Linked DNA regions of Homo sapiens: region 1 is linked to region 2. The links are contacts of gene promoters, found by promoter capture Hi-C in human tissues and cell types (Jung and others, 2019). All regions are on one chromosome and are shown on one strand. Each heading gives the region's core, a stretch centred on a gene start or on the middle of the fragment in contact. The rest is flanking DNA. Distances are from core to core; before and after follow the strand shown. Region 1 overlaps SLC2A13 (solute carrier family 2 member 13). Region 2 holds the start of ABCD2 (ATP binding cassette subfamily D member 2).

Region 1 (6,359 bases), core at 3,271-5,770, 310 kb before region 2:
TGTTTGGACATAGTATTATCTCTAATATGAATATTTTAGTTGACAATTCAAATGATTTCTAAAGTCAGAAAAACTGAAATGACTGGGGCTTCTCAGAATGAATCATACAGAAATTCAGTATTTATTAACATATTTATTAGAAGGCCAATTTGTGAATTAATTTGGTTATTAAAATTATATTGCTCACTTAGTTTGCATGTATATAATGTGTAAAGGACCAGATAAAAAATGTTGGTAAGCTATTTATTTTAATTGTAGGGTATGAATCAAATTGCTTGACTGCTTTGGAGATTGATCTATTAAAGCACAGTGAAATGAGTTTGCCTAATTTGCTGATTTTAAGGTTTTTTCATTAAACAATAAATGATGTTCTGAAGTCAGAATATTTATGTGGCAGTCACAGTCTTGTTTTAAGGGTATTCATGTTTTTATTTTGAATTTAATTTTTATCACAGTATTACATACACAAAAGTCAAGATACTATAAATCTTACTGTGAAAGGCAGTTGTCCCTGGCCCTCCCTTTCCCATCTCAAATTCTGCTTTCCAGAGGCAATTACTTGCACTTCTTTTAGATTTTTCTTTCAGTATTAACAACTGTATTTTTAAGTGAAAAATATGTATAATTTTTGAAATTCTGCACTGACTTTTCATTATGGAAGATGAAATGCTTCTTCCAACACTGCTCCCCCACAATACACACATTCACATTCACACATTCTTCCTGCCCCTGATATAATTATATCTCATTTTTGGATTAATTAATATATACCATTTTCATTACGATGATGATGGAAATATTGTTCCCCACTGAGCAGCTCTGTGCACTGTGATTAAATTTACTCTGATGTGTGCTGTGAGTCTTCTGTTTGCTCCTCTGCAGCACTTCCCCCTCCTCCACCTTGCTGCCTACAACCCATGATCCTGGCCTGCTGAAATGGCTCATACAGTTATACCAGGATTTTTTTCTCTCTCTCCTATAGTAGTAAGTAGGTGCCACATTCTTTTTCGTTTTTTGGTTTTTTTTTTTTTTTGAGACGAAGTCTCACTCTGTCACCCAGGCTGGAGTGCAGTTGTGCAATCTCCACACACTGCAACCTCTGCCTCCCGGGTTCAAGCGATTCTCCTGCCTCAGCCTCCTGAGTACCTGGGATTACAGGCATGCACCACCATGCCTGGCTAATTTTTGTATTTTTAGTAGAGACAGGGTTTCACCCTGTTGGCCAGGCTGGTCTCGAACTCCTGACCTCAGGTGATCCGTCCTCCTCAGCATCCCAAAGTGCTGGGATTACAGGCGTGAGCCACCACACCCAGCCCAAGTGCCGCATTCTTTAACTTGCTCAGTGTTCAGTGTACCCCTCACTAATTCTTTCTGCATACTTTTCAGTGGAGCTGTAAAGCCTCTTCCTTTACAGTTAAACCTAATGAGAAACACCCATAATCCATCCTGTGATTCTGCTCTTCTTACAGAACTTTCTCCTGCAGCCTCCAGTATCCTGCCTGCCTCTCCCATCTGGTTGCCCCCTGAGGGACAGCTGTAGAAATGCTCTTTACCCCTCTCTCTTGTGGCTGAGTTCTGTTTCCTATATTACATGTCTTTTGCTTTTTTTTTTTGAGATGGACTCTCACTCTGTCGCCCAGGCTGGAGTGCAATGGCTCGATCTCGGCTCACTGCAACCTCTGCCTCCCGGGTTCAAGCGATTCTCCTGCCTCAGCCTCCTGAGTAGCTGGGATTACAGGTTCCCACCACCACACCTGGCTAATTTTTGTAGTTTTAGTAGAGACAGGGTTTCACCATCTTGGCCAGGCTAGTCTCGAACTCCTGACGTCGTGATCCACCCACCTCAGCCTCCCAAAGTGCTGGGATTATGGGTGTTAGCCACTGCGCCCAGCCTCCCATGTCTTCTTTTTAGGCTGACTTCATCTTTATCATGATTCTTACTCTGTACTAGTTTCCTGTGAAAAGTTCAATGAGAAGTAAACAGTTTTGAGACCATGAAACTCTTTATTCAGTCCCCAGACTTGGGTTGTTTTTCTCCCTCAGAATTTTTAATGCCATAAATTTTCATTTTCTTGCCACTCCTTGCTGCTGGCCTTCACCATGTCTGCCATCCTCCTGTCTGCAATCCTGGACATTCATTTTCTCTGGACAGGACACCTCTGTCTCCTCCCCATGTGTGGGGAGGGCAAAGGATCTTGGCAGTGGAGTTGGGGGAGGCATCTTGTTGATTGTTACAAGGATTGTCAACCAGTCCTTTTTATAATCTACTGTCTGAGATATTTGGTACCTCCAATTCTTAAGACTTTCCAGAGTCTGTCATACAAATCATCCTGCTTCTTGCTGGCTTTACTTTGTTGTGATTAGGTTTTAGTTCTGCTGTGTTAAGCCAGTCACCACTTGTCTATCCTCTTTCCACTGTCCAAAGCTTCCAGTCTGATGTTCTTTATCCTTGCATACAAACTTTAATTACTTTATAGTCATTTTAGTGGAGAGTGTGAGGAAATAAAGCTGCTGGGTTTAACTGAACATCTTTCATAAGCCATTTAAAAATCTTGAGACAAGAAACAGGCAAGTTTGTAACTGAAATGCTTTTCTGAAATAAAAATGTTGCTTATTTTTTAACCAGTTACGCATTTAATATCCTTAATTTTTTAAGATTTTAATGTTTTAACTCTGTGCAGTAGAGCATCTAGCATTTTAGCTCTATTTTCTTTATTCCTCATGTTCTAAAAGAAGCACTCTTGATTCCACCACTCACACAAAAAGTGCAATCAGAGCCTGATTGGAGGGTTGGCAGGCTCTCAAATTGAGTAAGTACATTTGCATATTAGAAGGAACAGGATTTACTTTATAGAATTCTCTAATATGAGTAAGATTAAGATTTTTTTCACCCAATCCAGTAAGCAACAATTGGGCCAAAGCATAACTTATATTAGTGCTGTTTGAAGTTAAGATGTTTTGTTTTTTTCAAGAGTATGGGATGTGTAGCGTTTTTTGACTATTGAAGTACAAGATATTATTCAAGTAAAACATTTTTCCCTTTTCAAAATAATGTTGCTATAGGAAAGATTTCGATGAAGTAATGTAAGTAACAACTCTTAAATATATATCAGGACTTTAATATCGGAAATGTAATTCGTTTCCTGCAACATGAATACTTCATACCAAGCTTATAGTTATATAGATAATTTAATTTATACTTTAATGTTTTGGGTTCCAGTTTATTTGAAGTTAATTCATTTAATTATTTGTGTTTTGGGTACTTCATGGGCATGTACCATTTATCTTAAATGCTTTCCTTCCACAGGAGCTCAATAAGTGTTGATATAAAAACAATCATGTTGTGTATCTCTGGCGTAGTATTTTGAACATTGTAAAGCTTAATAAACTTGTCAAATTAATTAAAGCATATCCTGTAGCTTTTGTAAATGCCTCTTAAAATAAAAATTTCTGAATATGAAATAAACCAGATTTAGCCAAGTTACTATATCATTGCATAAAAACTTCTTGGTTTTGAAAAGCTGTTTTGACAGTAACAGTAGCAAATAAAATATTTTTTCTCGTTTGATATGTTATTGTTTAAAAAAGATAAATTCTAACCTAATGTAGACCACATATAATGAACACGCAATTTGGAGTATTAAACATTTTATTAATTGTAATAGATTATGAAATCCTGAACTACTTGTATTGTTACATATTTAGTATTTTATATTTTAAATGACATTTGGGGGAAAAAAACTCAAGAGTATGCTTTGACTAATATGTTTATATTCTTTCCAGGAAACTTCATATGACTCACCAATTTTCAGTTTAGTTTTTGATCTCTATTCTATACCTAGAAAATTTTAAATTCCTTAAGTATTTTGGTGTCAGGAATCAAAGGTAGAAGCAAACTTGCAGAGGTTGATTCTCCCAGGTTCTATAAAATGTACAAAATGTAGTGGATCATTTCATAAAAGGAATGGGTGTGGACTCAAAAGCACCAGGCCATTTGATTATGATACATGAACTGTAGACATATGGCTGACAAGAATCTTATCTGTTTAAAATACTTAGTGCAAAGTGTATTACTGTTCCATTTATATATGATCAAACTAAATGCTTTAGTTCTGGAGGTACTATAAATTATATGATACATTGATGGATTGCTTTATCAATTGTCCAGCTTTTCTCAATCAGATAGCATCAGGATATTTTTCTCTATAAATGAAACCTCTAAAAATTTTCACATTTAAAGTTAGAACTAGCTGGATGCAGGTGGCTCACGTCCGTTTTCCCAACACTTTGGGAGGCCGAGGCAGGAGAATCCCTTGAGCCCAGGAGTTCAAGACCAGCCTGGGCAACAAAGGGAGACCCTGTCTCTACAAAAATTAAAAAGCTCGCCTAGCATGGTGGCTCATGCCTGTAATCTCAGCTACTCAGGAGGCTGAGGTAGGAGGATCTCTTGAGCCTGGGAGATCAGGGCTTCATTGAGCTATGATTGGGCCACAGCACTTCAGCCTGAGTGACAGACTGAGACCCTGCCTGGAAAAAAGAAAAATAAAAAAGGTTAGAACTGTATTTGGTTTGTAAGACAGTAAAGATGATTTTATTACCTATTGAGATGATGACCTGGAAGTTGAAATACCAGTGGGCGATACAGCACATACTAAAGAGCAGCTTACAATACGCTGTCACATATCTCATTTATTTACAATTGATATCTGTGCTTGCATTTTGTAAATGTCAGAGCCATATAAATATGTCTGAGTTTTTAAAATTATAATAAAAGTCTGGGTAGCATTCTTGAAGGCACATATGATAACATGCCTTGGATCTTTCTGAGGCTGTAAACCTGAGATTTGTATGTAAGATGTTCTTAAAAATGGACTAAAGAGATATTTATCACTTTCTAAGTCTTAATATTAGTCACCCTTTTATAAGATATTATAATTATTTAAATACAAAGGGTTATTTATTTATATTTTTCTATAATTGAGGAATAATTATTGTGCTTTGAGGGACATTTTCATTCTCTTTGCTTTAATGTTCTAAACATGATTTAAGGTTCTCTTCAACAGATTTCCAATAATCTTTGCTTCAGTGTTATGAGTACTTAACCAAATATAAAAGCTTACCAAATTCGTGCCCAAATGAGAACATATGCTTCATTTTTATTTTACTATCTGTCATATTCATGAAGATCTAGATAGGATATCCTAACAATTGGGTTAAGGCTATTTAAAAAATTAATTTGGATAACTTAGACAAAGAAGGAAAATTGTTTATTTTATATTAAGCTCTGTATTACTGGGGAAAGACTGGTAAATATTGAGTGGGAATGATTAATTGGATTTGCTGAAAATTATTTTCTTTTAAAGCATCAGTATATAGACAGATATAGAGGAAAATACCAAATGAAAATAAAGTGGCAGTGATCTCAAAATGGGTGAGAAGTGATGTAGAGGGCTAGCATTACTAGTAGTGGCTCTTTTAGTAGTAAAAACTAAAATAATTGACATGAAAAAGATTTAGCCATTAAAAAATATAGTTTCTGAACCATAGCTTCCTAGCTTTTAAGTATTTCTTTACTTAAAGGAAAAAAAGTTAATTATTTGATATATTTTTAAAGTATGCAGGTGGAAGATGTTAATATATTATTGTTATATATGCACAACTGAATAACTGAAGTCATTGAGAAGTGTTACTATGACTACCTTTTTTGGTAAATAATGATTTTAGTGGTGAAAGATAAATGGCAGAAATTGAAAGATTTAATTAAAATACATTTAGTTCATCTTACTACTTTCTAACTAGTTTTAGGTAGATATTAAAAATGTGAATAATAAGGCCAGGCCTGATGGCTCACACCTGTAATCCCAACACTTTGGGAGGTAGAGGCAGGAGGATCCCTGAGCCTAGGAGTTTGAGACTAGCCTGACGATATGGTGAAACCCCGTCTCTACAGAAAAAAAGTACAAAATTAGCCGGGCATGATGGTGTACCCCATAGTCCCAGCTACTCAGGAAGCTGAGGTGGGAGCATAGATTTAGCTCAGGAGATCGAGTGAGCGATCCATGATCATGCCTTTGCACTCTAGCCTGGGTGGCAGAGTGAGACTCTTCCTCAAAAAAAAAAAAAAAAAAAAAAATTATCTGTATGTATAGGACACTTAACCTATTTATTCATCTGGTATGTTTTATGTCATGCTCCCTAATGTGTATGATGATATAAATAAATGTTGAAGAAAAATTTTAAACGGATAGTCTTTGGCAGATTTTTTACAATGTATTACATAGACAAAGAAACTTATTCTTCATACTTCTTTTATTTTGGCGGGGTGGGGGGTCTTTTTCTCAAGTTAGCTTTCTGTCATG
Region 2 (6,267 bases), core at 236-2,735:
GCAAAACCCATCTCTACTAAAACTACAGAAATTAGCCAAGTATGGTAGGCGCACCCTCGTAATCCCAGCTACTCGGGCTGCTGAGGCACCAACCTGGGAGGCGGAGGCTGCAGTGAGCTGAGATCGTGCCACTGCACTCCAGCCTGGGTGACAGAGAGAGACTCTGTCTCATAAAAAAAAAAAAAAAAAAAAAAAAAAAAGCTTTTTACATTTTCAAAAATATGCAGAATTGTCCTTGACTGTTGAACAATTTAAATCCTCCATTATGGATGTGAAGAATTTTAAGACTCTTAGTTTTTATCAAATAACCAAATGGAAATAGGAAGTAGCCAGTAGATTATCTCTACAGCTAAACAAAACAAACAAAGCAGAAACCTGCAAAAGACAAAGCATTCTTGAAAAATGAAGTAAGGTCCTAGAGAAGCTATTTCCACCATCCAACACCAGCTGAATTCCCAAATGGTTAAACTTTCACTATAAGTGCTACCCCACTCCAAGTAAAAACTACCTAACACATGGGAGTAGTAAACATGAAACATTGCTCTCATTTATTTAATAGTCGTCACCTTGTAAATAAATATGAGTACATCAGATCTCCAGTTATGGGGCTGGAAGATTTTTAGCATAAGGACAAGTAGGATGCAGAGGAAAAAGGGAGAATGGCTAGAGGCATAGCAAATAATTATTTTCTGTAACACGGAAGACTTTTATCCTATTTATTTACAAGGGAAACCCTCGATTACAACTTGTCTATTAGGTTCTGAGACCTTTTGTGAAATCAGACCCCCAAAAAAGCCGGGGGGATCTGTGAAAAACAGATCCAAGTGTATTTGATATTTGGCATTCTCCGGTGTCCCTCCCACTTGTCACTTTCTTTTCTGATCCGTTTCAGATTCATTCCATATCCTTTTCATATTCATTTTATGTTGATCCTCTTGTCCCTCCTCCCTCATTTTCGTGGTTCCTTCTCCCTCCTCGTCTCATTAAAACTCTTGCAAATCTCCCTTTCTGCTTGCTCTTCTGTTTGCGGTAGCTGCTGAAATCTTACCGAAGTGATGTATATTCTGAAACTTCTGCGGGTTTCTAAGTGACATTGAGCATGCTCAGTAGCTAGGGCCGGTTTTGTTCGCTTGGAAATCTCCCTTTCTGCTTGCTCTTCTGTTTGCGGTATCTACTGAAATCTTACCGAAGTGATGTATATTCTGAAACTTCTGTGGGTTTCTAAGTGACACTGAGCATGCTCAGTAGCTAGAGCCGGTTTTGTTCGCCAGCAGATGGCCTGATTCGACCTCTCCAAAAATAGACATTTTAACTCTCTGAACTCCTGTTTAAGGAAGGATGTAATTCGCTTTGCTCTCTCCTCATTTTCAAGGTTCAAAGGGAAGCTGCGAGGATTCCAAGGTCCCACCGCCCTCACAGCCAATGAGGGGCCTGGGAGGGAGGAGCTTGGTGCAGCTTGAGCTTCTGAGAGAATCATTCCCGGTAGATGCAGCGGAGTCTGAGCTCTGCTGCATCTGTCACAGCAGAACAAAATTAAAAACACAACAGTGGAAGAGAAACGCTGCAGACTATGGGACGCTGTAGGACTTTCTAAAACATTTGCTGGGGATTTCTGTGAAGCATGATCTTTTAAAACGAATTCTTTTGGAAGCCGGTTTGGGTAACTGGGAAAATGACACATATGCTAAATGCAGCAGCTGATCGAGTGAAATGGACCAGATCGAGTGCTGCTAAGAGGGCTGCCTGCCTGGTGGCTGCGGCATATGCTCTGAAAACCCTCTATCCCATCATTGGCAAGCGTTTAAAGCAATCTGGCCACGGGAAGAAAAAAGCAGCAGCTTACCCTGCTGCAGAGAACACAGAAATACTGCATTGCACCGAGACCATTTGTGAAAAACCTTCGCCTGGAGTGAATGCAGATTTCTTCAAACAGCTACTAGAACTTCGGAAAATTTTGTTTCCAAAACTTGTGACCACTGAAACAGGGTGGCTCTGCCTGCACTCAGTGGCTCTAATCTCAAGAACCTTTCTTTCTATCTATGTGGCTGGTCTGGATGGAAAAATCGTGAAAAGCATTGTGGAAAAGAAGCCTCGGACTTTCATCATCAAATTAATCAAGTGGCTTATGATTGCCATCCCTGCTACCTTCGTCAACAGTGCAATAAGGTACCTGGAATGCAAATTGGCTTTGGCCTTCAGAACTCGCCTAGTAGACCACGCCTATGAAACCTATTTTACAAATCAGACTTATTATAAAGTGATCAATATGGATGGGAGGCTGGCAAACCCTGACCAATCTCTTACGGAGGATATTATGATGTTCTCCCAATCTGTGGCTCACTTGTATTCCAATCTGACCAAACCTATTTTAGATGTAATGCTGACCTCCTATACACTCATTCAAACTGCTACATCCAGAGGAGCAAGCCCAATTGGGCCCACCCTACTAGCAGGACTTGTGGTGTATGCCACTGCTAAAGTGTTAAAAGCCTGTTCTCCCAAATTTGGCAAACTGGTGGCAGAGGAAGCACATAGAAAAGGCTATTTGCGGTATGTGCACTCGAGAATTATAGCCAATGTAGAAGAAATTGCCTTTTACAGAGGACATAAGGTAAGATAGAAATTAAGGTGATGGGTGAAATGTGAAACTGTTCAAGTTGCCACTGCAGTGCCAGATACCATCTGTTGTCCTGTCGATGGACCCACTTCTTTAGTGTCTTAGATTCCTCTGACATCTAAACCTGAATTAAAATATATGCTTCATTACCCCTTTTAACTGTAACCAGTTAAAGGATTATAGGGTGCAAACTTTTCTAAAGTTTCAGAAGAATAAAATTTGCAACACTCTAAAAAAGTCTACTTAGCCTCAGTTACTCAAATATGCTCAGAATTATTTCTAACGCATTTTCTTAAAACTTAAATCCCAACTTGGTAGGTCATCCTAAAGCACCTACCAGAAGAAAATATATATTTAGAAACTAAGACTAAACATATTTCCACTGAAATGGAAAATTTAGAATGATATTCTTTGTTGTTCCTTTGTTGTCCAAGAGGGGGGAAGAGCCAGGGTTTCTTATAGAAGACATTTTTAACAATTTTGCATGTCTGATCAATATGGAGCATCCCCATTCCCAAGAAGCGTAGGAGAGTGTCTCACAAAATGGCATTTCTACTACTCTTAGTTCATGTTCAGCACTGTACTTTGACAAAATGAAAAGAGGAAGTGAAATGAAATTTTGTCTAGCTTTGAAAAAAAAAAAAAGCTGAAATTAGAGAAGAAATGAGGAGTACAAAAGGAGTTTCAGAATGTTTTTAATTATTAAAGATTTTCAACATTAAGCAGATCCCTAAAACAATTAGCCCAATTATACATACTAACAGTGCATGAAGGTAACTTCAGAATATGAAATGACAGAAATTTTGAAGGCAATGCAATCTTAATTTAAATGACTTGGTGAATAAAATAAAGTATTCTACTGTTGAAGATGGCATGTCAATCACCAAGCAGAATTATTTAATTTTTAAAGCATCTGTAATTATCAGTGTCTTTAATAGCAGTAGCAACCTGAAAAATAATATTTAAAGTAAATTTAGGAATCCTACTCCCACTTGAAAATTGACCTCATATATTGTATTATATCATATTGATTTGTGATTCTTCTTGAACTATTGAATTCAATGATATAAATTATAGTGTGCTTAGACTTCTTGCATAAAAGACAAAATCCAACAAATTGAGTCAGTTCAAAAGTGGAGTCTATACATATATATGTCATGTGTCCATTTTCAGATATTTTTGGTGTAATCAACAAGGACAAAGCTCTAATAATTGTTTATTCATGTCTCATATAATATCATTTAATTTTAACATCTCATACATAAAATTTAAATATCATAACTATAAATTACTTATATGTATTTTATACCTAACATTATGTCCACTGAGTAGCATAAACTTTTAAAAATAATACACATGTGACCAAAACTAAATAATAACTAATACTGGTATTAATCTGCATTTATTGGTTAAGATGCATAGATAATGCCATACTAAAAAAAAAAAAGAATAATATGTATATATCTTTAAAAAAAGTCCTCAACTCTTTTTCCTCTCTATAGGTAGAAATGAAACAACTTCAGAAAAGTTACAAAGCTTTAGCAGATCAGATGAACCTCATTTTATCCAAACGTTTGTGGTACATCATGATAGAACAGTTCCTGATGAAGTATGTTTGGAGCAGCAGTGGACTAATTATGGTGGCTATACCTATTATCACTGCAACTGGCTTTGCAGATGGTGGTAATGACATTTATGCTTAATCTCAAATATATTTTTAACATTATTTCTTTTGAAGTTGTCATTGCTAGTTTTATGTGAGCTAAACTGTGTACATGGTCATATTCTAGTTAACAATGGTCCGAAACAATGGCAGACTTTACAGCGTCCAGTGATAAGACCAGCAGTATGAAATAAGGAGACAGTGGTTCAAAGACGTTCCCAGTTCTGAGCTATTTCAGAGATCTCTGATGCAGTGTTTCTCGGAGTTGACCTTGAGCAATTTTAATTATATTGCCTAATATAGGATGATTCTTTAGTTTACACTTAACCTCAGAATAAGTTAGTACCCTCAGAAAGAGTATAACACAAGCATTCCTCATGTGTTATAAACATTAGTTCTATACATCCCATACATTTAGTCTATAAATATTCTATAACTGAATTTGCCCTGCTTTGCGATTTGAAAAGTCCATTGACTACAATGGGCAAGCAGGAATATTGCTTCAGAGAATGCTTAAGTGCCATGGAATAAGGGCTCCTCTGCTTGTGAATAATACAGATAACCTCTTATGCAGCATGATTTGGTGGTTTTGTAGGAATGGTGGTTGTCAAGCTGCAGCTGGCTAATTCTATCCTACCACTGTCTCAACAGTTTTTAATAACAGTTTTTATTCTTTGGAATAACAAAGAAAGATAAGGGCAAGGAAGAAAAGACAATGTTAAAATGTTGTATCATCCTTGGATGGGAGCTTGGATCTTAATTGGTTGGAACAGAGAAGAATTAACTGAAGAAGTATTTTCTACTCTTTTCCTAAAATAAGACATCCCTCCTTAAAAATCACTGGACTAAAATTGGCCAGAAGCATAGGCTTTGTAGTGAAACAGAGTTTTGTTCAACTTTTGGTTCCCCCTCTTCCTACGTGTATCCTCTTAGTCTGTTTAATTAGAGTTGATTAAACTCTCTATACCTTAGTTTCCTCATTTGTAAAATGAGAACCAGAAAGGCTACTTCAGAGAATTGTTGTGAGGATTTAACTGAATAATGTTTATGAAGTACAGAGCATGTTATACTTGATATATGGTGACAATTATTACCTAGAAAATAAAAGGTGACAATTATTACCTAGAAAACTAAGAATATTGTTACAGAATCTGCACTGTTTTATAGTTATTTTGTACAGAATTAAGGATGAATAGTTATTTGTTTGAAGTGATCTAATAAAAACAATAATTATAATATGCCTTAATGTTTTGAAACAGTGCTTCAATGTTTTAACCAGTCCTTACAAAAACACTTGTCAAAGTTGAGTTATTCTTAACATAAATATGTTCATTTCAGTAAGTTAGTATTTGTCAGCCTTTCTTTGTGGCAAGTGTTATGCATATATCAATTATACTTCACAAATGAACTGTGTAATAGACACTATTTGTAGACCACTGAGAAAATTGAATTTTATCTGGTTTTATGTTTCAAAATTTACTAAAAAGAATTTAATTTTAAAAAGTTTATATTGAAAAAGGTATTGTTAGTAATAGTATTTTAGACATAATCCTTTCATAATGAAATAAAATTACTTTTTCAAAAGAGTATTAGCGAGAGTGACACTTTAAAATCTATGGTGTTAATATTAGTTTTACCAAAAAAAGTCAAAATTATCAGATATTCACTTAAAAAGTCATTTCTTAAAATAACGATACTCATTTAAAAAGTTTAATATATAATGTATATTAGAGACAACTCTATAGACAAGATTATGATGTAGTTTTGTTAGTCAGTGCTTGGACACACTGGTGTTATTAAAAAACCCTGGAGTATTCAACATAGAACAGCAAAAATGCAGCTATTAAATGGTGACAAATTAACCCCACAGAGACCAGTAAGAAGTAAACAATGTATACAAAGAATCTAACAAGCTTATTTAACAAGATGTAATAATATATTTAAAAATAAATCCCACAAATCCTGAAAATACCATATTAAATTAAAG

Evidence for each region. Contacts are between HindIII fragments. The study calls those that stand out against the background at their distance.
Region 1: a fragment that was not itself captured here is called in contact with the fragment with the promoter of ABCD2 in region 2 in 1 of the 25 tissues and cell types used here (hippocampus).

Annotation. Positions count from the first base shown.
Region 1 is chr12:39,924,805-39,931,163 of GRCh38, reverse strand. The region is part of intron 4 of SLC2A13 (solute carrier family 2 member 13); the gene reads left to right. Among named protein-coding and RNA genes, the nearest start is that of SLC2A13, 180 kb to the left of the region's middle. The HindIII fragment of the contact is 3,446 bases long and covers 2,798-6,243 here.
Region 2 is chr12:39,615,021-39,621,287 of GRCh38, reverse strand. It overlaps ABCD2 (ATP binding cassette subfamily D member 2), which reads left to right and starts at 1,485. Exons shown (of 10, transcript NM_005164.4): 1 at 1,485-2,611; 2 at 4,120-4,300. The coding sequence starts at 1,673. RefSeq lists enhancers at 1,174-1,693, 2,004-2,083. The HindIII fragment of the contact is 5,264 bases long and covers 1-5,173 here.